Linked DNA regions of Homo sapiens: all the other regions are linked to region 4. Evidence: promoter capture Hi-C in human tissues and cell types (Jung and others, 2019). All regions are on one chromosome and are shown on one strand. The core of a region is centred on a gene start or on the middle of the fragment in contact, and the rest is flanking DNA. Distances in the headings are between cores, read along the strand shown. Region 1 has its middle 38 kb from the start of ELFN1-AS1. Region 2 has its middle 41 kb from the start of ELFN1. Region 3 has its middle 41 kb from the start of PSMG3-AS1. Region 4 holds the start of EIF3B (eukaryotic translation initiation factor 3 subunit B). Region 5 holds the start of MICALL2 (MICAL like 2).

Region 1 (2,700 bases), core at 113-2,612, 570 kb after region 4:
TGATCCGCCCTCCTTGTCCTCCCAAAGTGCTGGGATTACAGCTGTGAGCCACTACGCCCAAACTTCACTTTCAAATATACGTAAGTTAAAGGGCAAGTTATTTAGAAATTTCTAGAAAAGGGATGATAACTTCCAGGTCACTGCCATGAAAAGGGGTGGTAACTTTCGGGTGTTGCCATGGCAATGCTAAACTGTTGCGGCGCTGGTGGGCCTGTCTTAGGGAGAAGAGCTTTCAGTGCCTCTTCTGTGTTTTAGCTAGTCTTCAATCAGGTCTGGAGTTGACTCCCACCTCCTACCTCAATAGTGTTATATGTACCGTCAAGCAATGCTCAACCCTGGGGATACATTCTGAGACATGCGTAGAATATTATATGCATATTGCTATAATGTTATAGCACCATATCTGTTTGTCTGCACGCATGTTGTTGGACGATTTCGTCACGTGTAAGTGACCTTCCACAGATCCAGTAGTGTACTCTAAGATGGCAGAGCCTACCCCATGGCCAGGCTGTACGGTGTGGCCTGTGGCTCCTGGGCTCCAGGGCTCCAAATGTGCACAGCAGGTGACAGCACTGAACGCTGCAGGCAACTGCAGCACAATACTGTATGTCTGTATGTCTCAACACATCTAAACACAGAGAAGGTGCCGTGAAAACACAGGATCAGTGACTTTAAAGTGGCGTACCTGATATGGCACTTAGCACGAACGGAGCTTGCGGGAGTGGAAGTTGCTCTGGGTGAGTCGGTGAGAGAGGGTGAGTGAGTGTGAAGGCCTGGGACGTTACTGTGCACCACTGGAGACTATTTTTTTGAGACAGGGTCTCGCTCTGTCGCCTAGGCTGGAGTGTAGTGGCACCATCTCGGCTCACTGCAACCTCTATTTCCCAGGTTCAAGCGATTCTTCTGCCTCAGCCTCCTGAGTAGCTGGGACTACAGGCGTGCACCATCAAACCCTGCTAATTTTTGTATTTTTAGTAGAGATGGGGTTTTGCCATGTTGGCCAAGCTGGTCTCGAACTCCTGACTTCTTGTGATCCAACTGCCTCGGCCTCCCAAAATGCTGGGATTATAGGTGTGAGCCACCCTTCCTGGCCTACTGAAGACTTTATAAACACTGTATACTTAAGCTATACTCTGTTTATTAAAAATATTTTTTCTTCAATAATAAAGTAACCTTAGCTTACTGTTACTTTGTAAACTTTAAAAAAATTTTTACTTTTTGGTAATACTTAGCTTAAAACACAAACACGTTGTACAGCTGTACAAAAATATTTTCTTTCTTTATTTTGTAAGTAAGTTTTTTTCTATTAAGGTTGGTGCAAAAATAATACCATTACTTTTTAATCCCATTACTTTTAATGGCAAAAACTGCAATTACTTTTGCACCAACCTAGTATTTTTGAAACTTTTTTCTACCTTTTTTTTTTTTTTTTTTTTTTGATGGAGTCTCGCTGTGTCATCCAGGCTGGAGTGCAGTGGCACGATCTCAGCTCACTGCAACCTCCGCCTCCCAGGTTCAAGCAATTCTCCTGCCTCAGCCTCCTGGGAAGCTAGGATTACAGGCACATGCCACTATGCCTGGCTAATTTTTGTATTTTTAGTAGAGACGGGGTTTCACCATGTTGTCCAGGCTGGTCTTGAACTCCTGACCTCAGGTTATCCTCCTGCCTCGGCCTCCCAAAGTGCTGGGATTACAGGCATGACCCACTGTACCCTTTTTTCTACTTAAAAAATTTTTTGTTACAAACAGAAACACACATATTAGCCCAGTATTAGCCTAGGCCTACACGGGGTCAGGATCGCCAATATCACTGACTTCCCCTCCATATCCTGTCCCAATGGAGGGCTTCAGCAATCCCTCCTGAAGGACCTGCCTGAGGCTGCTTTATAGTTACTTTGTTTTTGTTTTTAATCAGTAGTAGTATACTCTAAGATCATGATAAAAAAGTTGGCCGGGTGTGGCGGCTCACGCTTGTAATCCCAGCACTTTGGGAGGCCGAGGCGGGCGGATCATGAGGTCAGGAGATCGATACCATCCTGGCTAACACAGTGAAACCCCATCTCTACTAAAAACACAAAAGATTAGCAGGGCGCGGTGGCAGGCGCCTGTAGTCTCAGCTACTCGGGAGGCTGAGGCGGGAGAATAGCGTGAACCCGGGAGGCAGAGCTTGCAGTGAGCCGAGATCGCGCCACTGCACTCCAGCCTGGGCGACAGAGTGAGACTCCATCTCAAAAAAAAAAAAAAAAAAAAAAGTATAGGATAGTATATACATGAACTAGTGACACAGTGGTTTATCATCATTTGCAAGTACTGTGCACTGGACGTAATTGTATGTGCTAGACTTTCCTATGACTGGTGGTGCAGAGGGCTTGTTTACCCCAGCATCACGGGTGCGTACACACACATACACACACGAGTAACGTACTGCACGGTGACGTGACGATGGCCACCACAGCACCAGGCGACAGGGAATCTTCAGATCCACTACAATCTCTCATGAGACCCCTGTCGGATGTGCAGTTAGTCACTGACCAAAATGTTTCTACGCGGCGCACGACTGTGTATACATTTGGTCATAATGCTTTTCTAAAAAACAGTGTCTCACTCTGTTGCCCAGGCTGGAGTGCAGTGACACAATCATAGCTCACTGCAGCCTTGAACTCCTGGGCTCAAGTGATCCTCCCACCTCAGCCTCCCAAG
Region 2 (2,700 bases), core at 171-2,670, 730 kb after region 4:
ATTAGACATCCCCACTAGCATACTGATTTTATTCCATTATATAAAGAATTAGTCTGGAAATATTATCAAAACCTTAGGAAAAACCTTCCATGTACCCAACACTGCTGGGCTCTTTGTGTACTGCAGAGAAAACGTGATGATTTCCAGCCCCAAGAAACTCCGTGAGTAATGGGAAAGGCCGTGTGTCTCTGTGTAGGGAGACAGATGGGAGTGGACAGACAGGCTGGCAGAGGAGCCATGCCAGGGAGAAGCAGGCAAGCTCCTGGGAAGACCACCCTGCTGCAGAGAAAATAATATAAACCATGACACCTGCCAGCTGTCAGGGGCTGAGTGCAAGCCTGGGACAGGTTTTTCTATTCTTTTTTTCTTTCAGATGGAGTCTGGCTCTGTCGCCCAGGCTGGAGTGCAGTGGCGCGATATCGACTCACTGCAACCTCCACCTACTGGTTTCAAGCAATTCTCCTGCCTCAGCCTCCCAAAGTAACTGGGATTACAGGTGCATGCCACCATACCCAGCTAATTTTTTGTATTTTTAGTAGAAACGGGGTTTCACCATGTTGGCCAGGCTGATCTTCAACTCCTGATCTCAGGTGATCCAACCACCTCAGCCCCTCAAAGTGCTAGGATTACAGGCATAAGCCACCATCCCCAGCCAGTTTTTCTTATTTGTGTTCCAGAAATTGACAAGCCAAGTGTGAAATTCATATGGAATGCAAAGGACCTAGAAGACCCAAAACAACATTGAAAAGAGTGATGTTGGAGCACTGGCACTCCCTGATTTCAAGACATATGACAAAACTATTGTGATCAAAACAGTGTGGCATTGCTATAAATACAGACAAATAGATCAATAAAACAGAATAAGAGTCTCGAAATAGATGCCCATATACATGGACAACTAATTTTGACACAGATGCAAAGGCAACTTAGTGGAGAAAAGAGAGGCTTCTCATCAAATGGGTTGCAACGTTTGGATATCTGTTCACGCAAAAAAGGAGTTTTGGTCCATAGTTCACACTATATACAAAAGTAAACTCAAAATGGATCATAGACCTAAATGTGAAACCTAGAATTATAAAGCTTCCATAAGAAAACATAGAAGAGCATCTCTGCGCTCTTTTCTTACAGGTAAAGATTTTTTAGACATGGCATCAAGTGTGATCCAAATAAAACTTAATAAACTGGACATCATCAAAATTAAAGACCTTCTGCTCTTTATTTTATTTTATTTTTTTGAGACAGAGCCTCACTCTATTGCCGAGGCTGGGGGCAGTGGCACAATCTCCACTCACTGCAACCTCCACCTCCTGGGTTCAAGCGATTCTCCCACCTTAGCCTCCTGAGTAGCTGGGACTACAGATGCCTGCCAACGTGCCCAGCTAATTTTTTTGGTAGAGATGGGGTTTCACTATGTTGGCCAAGCTGGTCTCAAACTCCTGACCTCAAGTGATCTGCCCACCTCAGCCTCCCAAAGTGCTAGGATTACAGGCATGAGCCACCACGCCAAGCCCCTTCTGCTCTTTAAAACTCACTGTAAGGAGAATGAAGGGACAGCTCACAGGCTGTGAGAAAATATTTGCAAACCATAGATCTGAAAACAAACAACTGAATTTTAAAATGGGCCAAAGATTTGAACAGATACTTCACCAAAAAGACACATAGATGGCAAGTAAGCACCTGAAAAGATATACAATGTCATTAGTCGTTAGGAAAATTCAAATTAAAACCATAAGATAGCTCTGAACACCTATTAGAATGCCTAAAGTTAAAAAGACTGACCATATTAAGTACTGGTAAAGATTGGAGGAACCGGGACTCTTTAGACGCTGCTAATGGAAATACAAAATTGTACAACCACTTTGGAAAATAGTTTGAAAGTTTCTTTCTTCTCTACTAAAAATACAAAAATTAGCCAGGCGTGGTAGCACATGCCTGTAGTCCCAGCTACTTGGGAGGCTGAGGCAGGAGAATCGCTTGAACCCAGGAGGCAGAGGTTGCAGTGAGCCAAGATCACACCACTGCACTCCAGCCTGGGCAACAGATCTAGACTTGTATCTCAAAAAAAATTAAAATTAAACTACAAAAATTAGCTGGGTGTGGTGGTGGGTGCCTGTAGTCCCCGCTACTTGGGAGGATGAGGCAGGAGAATCGCTTGAACCCAGGAGGCAGAGATTTCAGTGAGCCAAGATCACACCACTGCACTCCAGCCTGGGCAATAGAGCAAGACTCCATCTCAAAAAAAAAAAAAAAAGGAAAAACGTATTGATCAGTAAGAATCCATAAGTAAATTCATACATCTATGAACAACTGGTTTTTTACAAGGATGCCAAGGCCATTCAATGGTGAAAGAATTGTCTTTTCAACAAATGACGCTGGGACAGCTGGAGAGCCACATTTTAAAGAATGAAGCTGGACCCCTGCCTCACACAAACATTTATAGAAGAAAATATTTGCAAATCATATAGGTCATATATCTGATAAGAGGTCTACTCTCCAAAATATTGTATAAAGAACTATATAGTATAGTATAATATAAAAAACTCTTTTAACTCAAGAACAAAAAGACAAACCACTCAACTTAAAAATGAGCAAAGAGGCCGGGGGCGGTGGCTCACGCTTATAATCTCAACACTTTGGGAGGCCAATGAGGGCAGATCACAAGGTCAGGAGTTTGAGACCAGCCTGGCCAATATGGTGAAA
Region 3 (2,700 bases), core at 61-2,560, 740 kb after region 4:
ATGAATGAATAAACCCCAGCCAGGCAGTTCTAATGGAAGCTGCCGTATGGACTCAGGGTGAGCAACTGACCAAGCCAGGCCATGCACAGTCCTTCCGTGGGGTTTTCCCAGCTGAGGCTAAAGAAAGACGCGCAGATCCCGCCCGGTGGCAGATGGCATGGCATGTGGCTCTGGAGCTCTCTGTCCCCCAGTAACCCCATCCCCACCCCCCAGGAGGAAGAGGCTGCCCGGCCAGAGGTAGATGTGCTGAGAGCAGCAGGGATGAGGCTGGAGACGTCCTGGGATCTCTGAGCCTTCCTTCTGTTGCAAAACCACAGAGTCCTGACTTCTAGGAAATTCCTTTCTTGCCTCAGCAAATTTGAGCCAGGTCTCTGTGACTCATTAGTAAAGGACCCTGATGGGCACAGATGGAACAAGAGGCCAAGGGAAGGGTGGGGCCTCTTTGTTATAAACGAGGTGCAGCTGGGCATTGTGGCTCACGCCTGTAATCCCAGCACTTTGGGAGGCCGAGGTAGGCGGATCGCTTGAGGTCAGGAGTTCAAGACCAGCCTGGCCAACATGGCAAAACCCCACCTCTGCTAAAAATACAAAAATTAGCCAGGCATGGTGGCGGATGCCAATAATCCCAGCTACTTGGGATACTCGGGAGGCTGAGGCAGGAGAATCGCTTGAACCCAGGAGGCGGAGGTTGCAGTGAGCCGAGATCACACCACTGCTCTCCAGCCTGGCAATAGAGCAAGACTCGGTCTCAAAATAAAAAAAAGGCACAAGTGAAATGGTCACTCAGCTGAGACAACAGAGATGGGAGTCTGATCTGCTTTAGGGTTGGATTAGACCAAGCTCTATGGGTCTCTTCCAGCCCCTGTGTATCCCAGGGGCTCCCCCACCTCTGTGGGCCTCTGTTTCTCCCATTATAAAATGATGGGGTAGACGAGATGGCCCCTGAGCCAAGTCTGGTCGAAATGTGGCATCCGAACTGACGCCCAGTAGATTTCTGACCAGTCTAGCCCATCACCCCACTGGAGGAGGGAGACACAGGCTGAGGACCACTGACCAGTCAGCCAGGAGACCTAGGCCCTGGGCACTGCTGGGCCGGTTCAATCCAGCGCCCTGCCTGGCAAAACCCCGCTACGACTCATCAACACGCAGCAACTCCCCCTGCCCCCAGCTCGGCAGCTCCAGTGTGGACAATCGGCAGAGCTGCTCAGGTGGATCTAAGACTCCCCTAATGAGATTCTTGACGATTGGGAAACTAATGATATGCTCAACTCATCTTTAATTGGCACGGTGCTGCTGGAGATGCCAGCGCGGGCGAGACGCGGGGCGGCTTTGACTCAAGCCATCATTATCGCTCCTTGGCGGCACTTGGTCCTCGCCCACCCTCAGAGCCATTGCCCCCGCCGCCCCGCTGCCCCCACCCCCCAGGCTGCGGTCTGCCAGCTGGGCCCTCAGTGGCTCCTTCTGTCTGGCCTGCAGGGGGGCCCCAGGCCTGTCCCCATGCAGATACCCCGCCCTGGGAGGCTGGTCACATTCTTGGGCGCTGAGAGGTCCCTCCCTCCCTCATCATCGGCGTTTCCCTCGCTGGGTGGGCCTCAGCCCTATGGAGGGGTCTCATGAATGGTGCAGGAAGCAGGAGGGGGGTGCTGACCGGTGCATGGGAACCTGCTTTCCTGGAGACCCATCTTAGCTCTTTCCATCCTCAGCTCCTGACCCCTTTCTCAGCCTCATTTTCCCCACGTGCAAAATGCAGATAACGTTAGCCCTTCCCCCGGGGGCTCACGAGTGGGCAGCCCGCACTGTGTGGTCAGACTCATGGGAAGACGAAAGGGTGCGGGAGAGGTCTGATGCCCGCTGCTCGCCACCTCCGGGGGTGTCCAGGCTGGGCACAGCAAGCTCTGTACGACCAGCCAGGGCAACCTGAGTCCAGTGACAGCCCAGTGCGTGGGGTCCACAAGGGAGACCCAGTGCCAGGCCGGCGTGGTGGGAAGAGGAGCTGCAAGTCATGCTGGGAGCCGGGGAAGGCAGACAGTGCCAGGCTGCAGACTCAGCCAAGGTCCAGCCAAGCCTGCTGCGCTGTGGCACCTGAGACACAGGTGCCCACCTTCTCCCCCTTGAAGCTCTCTTCCCGGAGCTCCCCAGCCCCCCGCTTCTCCTCCTGCCTCCTTGACTTCTCTCTCAGCCCCGATTGAGCCAGCCCGCAACTGTGGGGCTCCTAGAGGTTCACTTTGAGGCTCTCTTGCCCTCTCACTCACTCCCCCTCCCTAGGGGAGCTCACCTGTGACCTTACCTCGAATAACCACCCCCATGGATGGTCCCTAAATGTCTCTCTTTGGAGGCCAGCACCTCCAGACGCCCTGCAGGAACCGCTCCCCTTACTCAGTCTCCTACCACAGCGAATGACACCAACTGCCTAACCAGCTGATCAAAGCAGAACCCTGGAAATCATTTCTTTTTTTTCTTTCTTTCTTTCCTTTTATTTTTTTTGTTTTGAGATGGAGTCTCTCTGTGTTGCCCTGCCTGGAGTGCAGTGGCACAATCTCAGCTCACTGAAACCTCAAGCAGTTCTCCTGCCTCAACCTCCAGAATAGCTGGGATTACAGGTGCACGCCACCACACCCGGCTAAGTTTTGTATTTTTAGTAGAGACAGGATTTCACCATGTTGGTCAGGCTGGTCTCGAACTCCTGACCTCAGGTGATCC
Region 4 (2,700 bases), core at 4-2,503:
GGAAGCAAAAATATGCCTGTAAATCCAATCAAGGTTGAGATGAAGGCAAAGCTGGCTGTTATCGGCAATATTAAAACCTGGAAAAATAACTCTCTTTATAGATTTAGCGCAAGAGATAAAGAAAAATCAAACTGGAATTTCACAGGGTGCCTGTCCCACTAAGGAAGTCTCTGGAGATGGACAATTCTGAGGGGCAGGAGGACAAAATCACCGGCTCTGCCACAAGCTGTTCCTCCGATCCAGACCTTGGGAGGTCTGACTGGTCAGCTCTGGGGACACGTAGACCCGCAAACCTGCCACCGGGTCTTCGGTTTTTGCCGTACCCCCAGCTGCTACACTCACAGCACACCCAGCCATAACGGAGTACCCCATGTGCCCTCTCCCACCCTCTCAGATTTCTGGTTGTCATGCAAATGCCTGGCTCCCGAAGTGAGCTCCACCCTGTCCCCTTTTTCAGGAAAGAAAAGGGGAGGCGCTGGGCTCTCAGAACACTTCCAGGGCACTCGGGAACCCCTCCCTCGGTGGCTTCTCAGGAACACACGGACACCCTCGCTGGAACTTCTGCACGAACCGGTGGCACAGCCCGACGATATCTCCCACCTCGGGAACCCCAGCCACGCTCCCGCGCCGCTCGCCAGCCCCGCCCCGGGCGCCCTCACCTTCCTCGCTCACGTCGTCCACGAAGTCCTCGGGGTCGCTGAAGGAGGGCTCGTCCGCGTCGCCGTTCTCCAGCGCCCGGGGTTCGGCCTCGGCCGCTCTGCCCTCGTTTCCTCCCGCGTCCTCGGACACCGCCTGGGCCCGGCTGTCGGAGCGCTCGTCCCGAGCCTGCTCTCCTGGGGCCTCGCCCTGTGCCGGGACAGGGGGCTCAGCATGCGACCCGGGCAGCTCCTCGGCGGCCGGCGGCGAGGGCGACTCGGACGGGCCGGAGGCCGCCTCTGCCTCGGCCGCCGGCTCGGTCCTCACCTCGGACTCCGGCCCGGCCTCCGCGATCCCCACCTCCTCACTGGAGGCCTCGGTCCCCGCGGCCTCCGGAGCGCCGGGCCCCGCGGGCCGCAGCAGCCCCTCGGCTGGCGGCGGCTCGGCGGCCGGCTGCTGCTGGCCGGGCTCGGCGCGCTCCTCGGCCGCCTCGGGCACCGCCACGTTCTCCGCGTCCTGCATGGGCCCAACGCTGCCTACTCGCAGGGCTCCGCGGCCGCCGCGCTTCCGACTCTCCCAGGCCGCACCGCGCGCCGCGACGGCTACAGCCCAGCCATGTGCGTGCGACGGGGAGGCCGCACCAAGGCCGCGGGGCGGGGGGCGCACCCACGCCCTGGGGCCTCACGAACGACCCTGAGAGGACTCGCATCCACAAGACCGCGCCCGAAAATCATCAAACTGATATATTTGTGACAAGAAAGTGCTTAATTCCATTCAGCAAGGTTGTTTCTGTGCATCAGTAAACTCATGGGAGCATTGACCACCCCATGTGTGGCAGCAGATGGTTCCGTCCAACATGGCGTCCTCCCCCTTTCCTTTCCCGTCGGACGCTGCGGGGCGGGACTGAACTATTTGTGGAGCTGAAGGCGGGGACAAGAAATGATTTTAGTACCCGGAATGCTAGGAAAATGTCCTCTAACTCAACAGTTAATACCCTGGAAGAGTGGAGACTCAACAGGCGATTGCTCAGGGCGTCTGAGCCTTTCGCTAGGGAAACCGTTTAGTTTACGTTACTAAAGTCCCCCCTGTCCGTGTCTGTCACTTGGACTCGCCTACTGACTGAGCAAAAGGACAGACTACTTCAAAATAGAAAAGGAATTCGGGGCGAGCCAGAGAGGGCCCACACGACTAGAAGGACGACTGCCTGGCGCGATACAAAAATGTATGGAAGTTTCTTTAATCGCTTACCCCCAGTCCTTCCCTAGCGGCCGTCACTGCCTGTTTCCCCCCATTCGGGCTTTCACAGTGGTTCAGTCCATCCGAGGCCGCCGCCTTCAGCGCGGGACAGCGCGGGTCACGTGGGGGCGGGGGCGGGTCCTCGCCGCGTGGAGCTCGAGGCTGACTCCGGAGGGACCGGAGCGGTTCGCTCTGCGCGGGTGCTCACGGGACGGGCATTGGGTGCATGTGGCTTCTATCTTGTTTTTTGCCGGAGTGGAGGACAACCACTGGTTGGGGGATGTCTTAATCATCCTAGAAAACAACCCAGTGGATCACGCCTGTTATCCCAGCACTTTGGGAGGCTGAGGTGGGAAGATCGCTTGAGCTTAGGAGTTGGAGACCAGCCTTGCCAACATAGCACCACCACCCCCCGCACGCCAGCCCTCATCTCTACGAAAATTAAATAAATAAATAAAACAGGTGGTACCCAGAGGCTGGGGTGGAGAGTGGGGAGTGTTTATCGGGGACGGACCTTCAATTTGGGAGGATGAGAACGTTTTGGAGATGACGGTGGTGATGGTACAACATGGTGAATGTACTTGATGCCACTGAACTGTATACTAAACTTCATATTAAAATGGCTAGGCCCTGCGCGGTGGCTCACACCTCTCTTCCCAGTACTTTGGGAGGCCAAGACAGGAGGATCACTTGAGCCCAAGAGTTCAAGACCAGTCAGGGCAACATAGCGAGACCCTGTCTTCGAAAAAATAAAATAAAATGCCAAAAAGGTAAATTTTATGTATATTTCATCCTATAGTTTTTTTGTTTTGTTTGTTTTCAGAGATA
Region 5 (2,700 bases), core at 111-2,610, 900 kb after region 4:
CACAGGCCTCACTGACACTTAGGCAGCTGGCCATGAACACTACGGTGTCTCACCAGGGACCAGCCTCAGAAAAGATCTGGAACAGCACCATTGGCTGGGGTTGGAAGACCTCAGTTTCTCCTCCTCCCAAGGGGCACAGAGAAGCTGCCCTGACTCCCTGCCAGGGGCTACTGCGGGAAAACACCTTCCTTCCTGCAGGCCCTGCCCAGACAAGCCCTGGCCCCACAGCCAGGAGGGTAGGCCCCCCTCACATGGCTGGTGTCAGTGATTCCGCCCTCGTCCAGCCCCCGTGGCCACAGACAAGGTTCCCCAAGGATAACGGGGCCAGGGGCCAGTCTGGGATAATTTAGGGCCCCAGCAGAGGGACTTTCCTTATTTCTTCTGTCACAGCTCAAAGTGGAAAATTGGAACTACCCTGCAAGTCAGCCTGAGGAATCTCCTGCCCCAGGAACAGATCCTGCCCACAGGCCCCCAGAAGAAAAGCACAGGCCAGCTGTGCAACTCCGGCTCCACGGCCCCCTTCCTGGCCTCAGTTTCTCCTCTGGCAATGCCCAGGCCTCACCTCTGCCTTGCCTGGAACCCCCGCTGGCATGTAGCGGCCTGGAAAGAGAAACCAGATGCGGACGTCCTTTGAAACCCTGAAACACAAGGCGCCTCCTGCTCCCCGGGAGGCCGGGCTGCCGAGGGCTGAGGCCCTAGACAGGGCAGGGTGTTCGAGCCTCAGTGTCCCCGTTTGTCAACGGCCTTTCCTGCCTCTTCTCCATGGCGGTGGGGTGAGATGGTGGTGGGAGGTGGGGCGGCGAAAAAGAAAATTCCAGGTCTCCGCAGGGGTCCAGAATGGCAGGACCCCCAAGCAGACCGCGCCCCTTCACCGGTTGGGGGTCTCGGCCCTCAGCGGCGGGGCGGGGCCTGGGGAGGGGCCAGGCGGCGTGGGGCGGGGCCTGTCGGGCGGGACCTGACAGCGTGGGGGCGGGACTTACCAGGAGGCGGGACGTGCCTAGGGCGCGAGCCCGTACTGGGGCCGGGCGGCGTGGGGCGGGGCCTCTCGGGAGGCAAAACCTGGAGGCTGGGGGCGGGGCCTGTCCGGAGTCGGGGCCTGCCTGGAGCGGGAGCCTGTGCCGGGGCCAGGAGGCGTGGGAACGGGGCCTATCAGGAGGCAGGACCCGGCGGCTGGGGGCGGGGCCTGTCGGGAGGTGGGGCCTGCCTGGGCGGGAGCCTATGCCGGGGCTGGGAGGTGTGAGGACGGGGCCTATCCGGAGGCAGGACTTGGCGGCTGGGGGCGGGGCCTACAAGGAGGCGGGGCCGGCGGGGGCGGGGCCGGGCTCGGCTTCTCTTAGGGACCCGGCACTCGTCGCCCTCAGTCCGGCTCAGCTGGGGCTGGGCGCCGTGGGTCTGGCGGTTCCGTAGCGGTCCCAGCGTCTGTCCCGCCGGCCGGGCGGTCGCGGCACAGCCGCGGGAAGGTGTCGGAGGGCGGTTCCGCCGCGCGGCGGGCGCGCCGCCCACATGGCGGCCATCAGGGCGCTGCAACAGTGGTGCCGGCAGCAGTGCGAGGGCTACCGCGACGTGAATATCTGCAACATGACCACGTCGTTCCGCGACGGCCTGGCTTTCTGCGCCATCCTGCACCGCCACCGGCCCGACCTCATGTAAGTCCTGCCTGGCGCCCTTTGATTCTTCTGCTGTTCGGCTGCGCGCTGACACGGGCGGGGAAACTGAGGCCCGGGCGGCTGGGGGATGGGGAGCCGAGGCGTGGGACTGGGCAGGCACAGCCCACCGTGCAGCCCCCCGAGGCTGTCCTCAGTGGCCTCAGTGTGCCCGGACACCGAATGCAGCTGGGCCAGAGCCATGGCATCCCCCGCCCGCCGGCTGAGTCAGACGTGACTCAGGGCGGCTCCTGGGCCCTGGCTTCAGTCCAGTCCCCCTCTGTGTCCCTGGGAAAGGCCAGCAGAGCTGCCTCTTTGGGCCCTCCGAGGCTCTCACTGCCCAGGGGCCTGGCCACCAGATGGGGTCCCTGGATAGCCCTCGTATGGGCACTGACCCTCCCCCAGCCTGTTCAGGCCCCTGGGGGGATGTGGCCAGGGCCACTGTGGGGGAGCGGCCAGTGCAGGGCAGGAAGCCCCCAGACCCCAGGTGCTGCTGCCAGCCGGGCCTCTGAGGCCCCGGGTGATAGGGCCCGAGATGGAGAACAGCCCCCATCTCTGGGAGCAGCAGGAGGTGGCAGGGGTTGAGGACTAGGCTGTCTCTCCCCAGGAGGGTCTTGGCGTGTGTAGCTGGGCAGCTGGCCCTGCCCGTTGCTGAATCTTGGCCCGAGCCTGGACCTGCTCCATTGTTTATTCACTCAGCAAACGCTCTTTGGCTAAATGACTGGGACCAGGCTTGCTGGGACAGAGATCTGTGTGTCGGGGCTGGGGGCCAGACGCTCAGGAAGGGGGGCCCTCAACGGCCACCTGCAGCCCAGGCACCTTCTGGGCAAAGCGTTCTCCTGAGTGTGTTTTTGGTGGGAAGGTCTCGGGGTTGGGAGGAGCCACAGGCAGCACCTGGGGCCTCTGTCAGGCCGCAGCTGTGCAGACCAGAGAACCGAGGCTAAGAGGAGGGGTCCTTGCTCAGGTCACACAGCCCCAGCCCGTTGCGCAGATCCGGGGCTCCTCCCCTGTGCCCCTGGACACTGTCCTGCCAGTCCCACTCTCTGCAGGAAGCTGG

Evidence for each region. Contacts are between HindIII fragments. The study calls those that stand out against the background at their distance.
Region 1: a fragment that was not itself captured here is called in contact with the fragment with the promoter of EIF3B in region 4 in 1 of the 25 tissues and cell types used here (dorsolateral prefrontal cortex).
Region 2: a fragment that was not itself captured here is called in contact with the fragment with the promoter of EIF3B in region 4 in 2 of the 25 tissues and cell types used here (heart right ventricle and lymphoblastoid cells).
Region 3: a contact is called between a fragment that was not itself captured here and the fragment with the promoter of EIF3B in region 4, in 3 of the 25 tissues and cell types used here (lymphoblastoid cells, mesenchymal stem cells and spleen).
Region 5: a contact is called between the fragment with the promoter of MICALL2 here and the fragment with the promoter of EIF3B in region 4, in 1 of the 25 tissues and cell types used here (lymphoblastoid cells).

What each region holds. Positions count from the first base shown.
Region 1 is chr7:1,779,395-1,782,094 of GRCh38, reverse strand. No RefSeq gene overlaps it. Among named protein-coding and RNA genes, the nearest start is that of ELFN1-AS1, 38 kb to the right of the region's middle. The HindIII fragment of the contact is 9,526 bases long and covers 1-2,700 here.
Region 2 is chr7:1,627,957-1,630,656 of GRCh38, reverse strand. No RefSeq gene overlaps it. Among named protein-coding and RNA genes, the nearest start is that of ELFN1, 41 kb to the left of the region's middle. The HindIII fragment of the contact is 6,415 bases long and covers 1-2,700 here.
Region 3 is chr7:1,609,484-1,612,183 of GRCh38, reverse strand. No RefSeq gene overlaps it. Among named protein-coding and RNA genes, the nearest start is that of PSMG3-AS1, 41 kb to the right of the region's middle. RefSeq lists an enhancer at 2,569-2,700. The HindIII fragment of the contact is 8,361 bases long and covers 1-2,700 here.
Region 4 is chr7:2,353,380-2,356,079 of GRCh38, reverse strand. EIF3B (eukaryotic translation initiation factor 3 subunit B) reads right to left here and starts at 1,253. Exons shown (of 19, transcript NM_001037283.2): 1 at 660-1,253. The coding sequence starts at 1,158. It also overlaps a transcript of SNX8 not described here. RefSeq lists silencers at 797-906, 957-1,046, 1,227-1,366 and enhancers at 2,167-2,236, 1,907-2,462. The HindIII fragment of the contact is 17,363 bases long and covers 1-2,700 here.
Region 5 is chr7:1,458,130-1,460,829 of GRCh38, reverse strand. MICALL2 (MICAL like 2) reads left to right here and starts at 1,360. Exons shown (of 17, transcript NM_182924.4): 1 at 1,360-1,646. The coding sequence starts at 1,504. MICALL2-DT (MICALL2 divergent transcript) reads right to left here and starts at 911. Exons shown (of 2, transcript XR_001745046.2): 1 at 563-911. RefSeq lists enhancers at 1-537, 1,961-2,683, 2,684-2,700 and a silencer at 868-1,587. The HindIII fragment of the contact is 47,250 bases long and covers 1-2,700 here.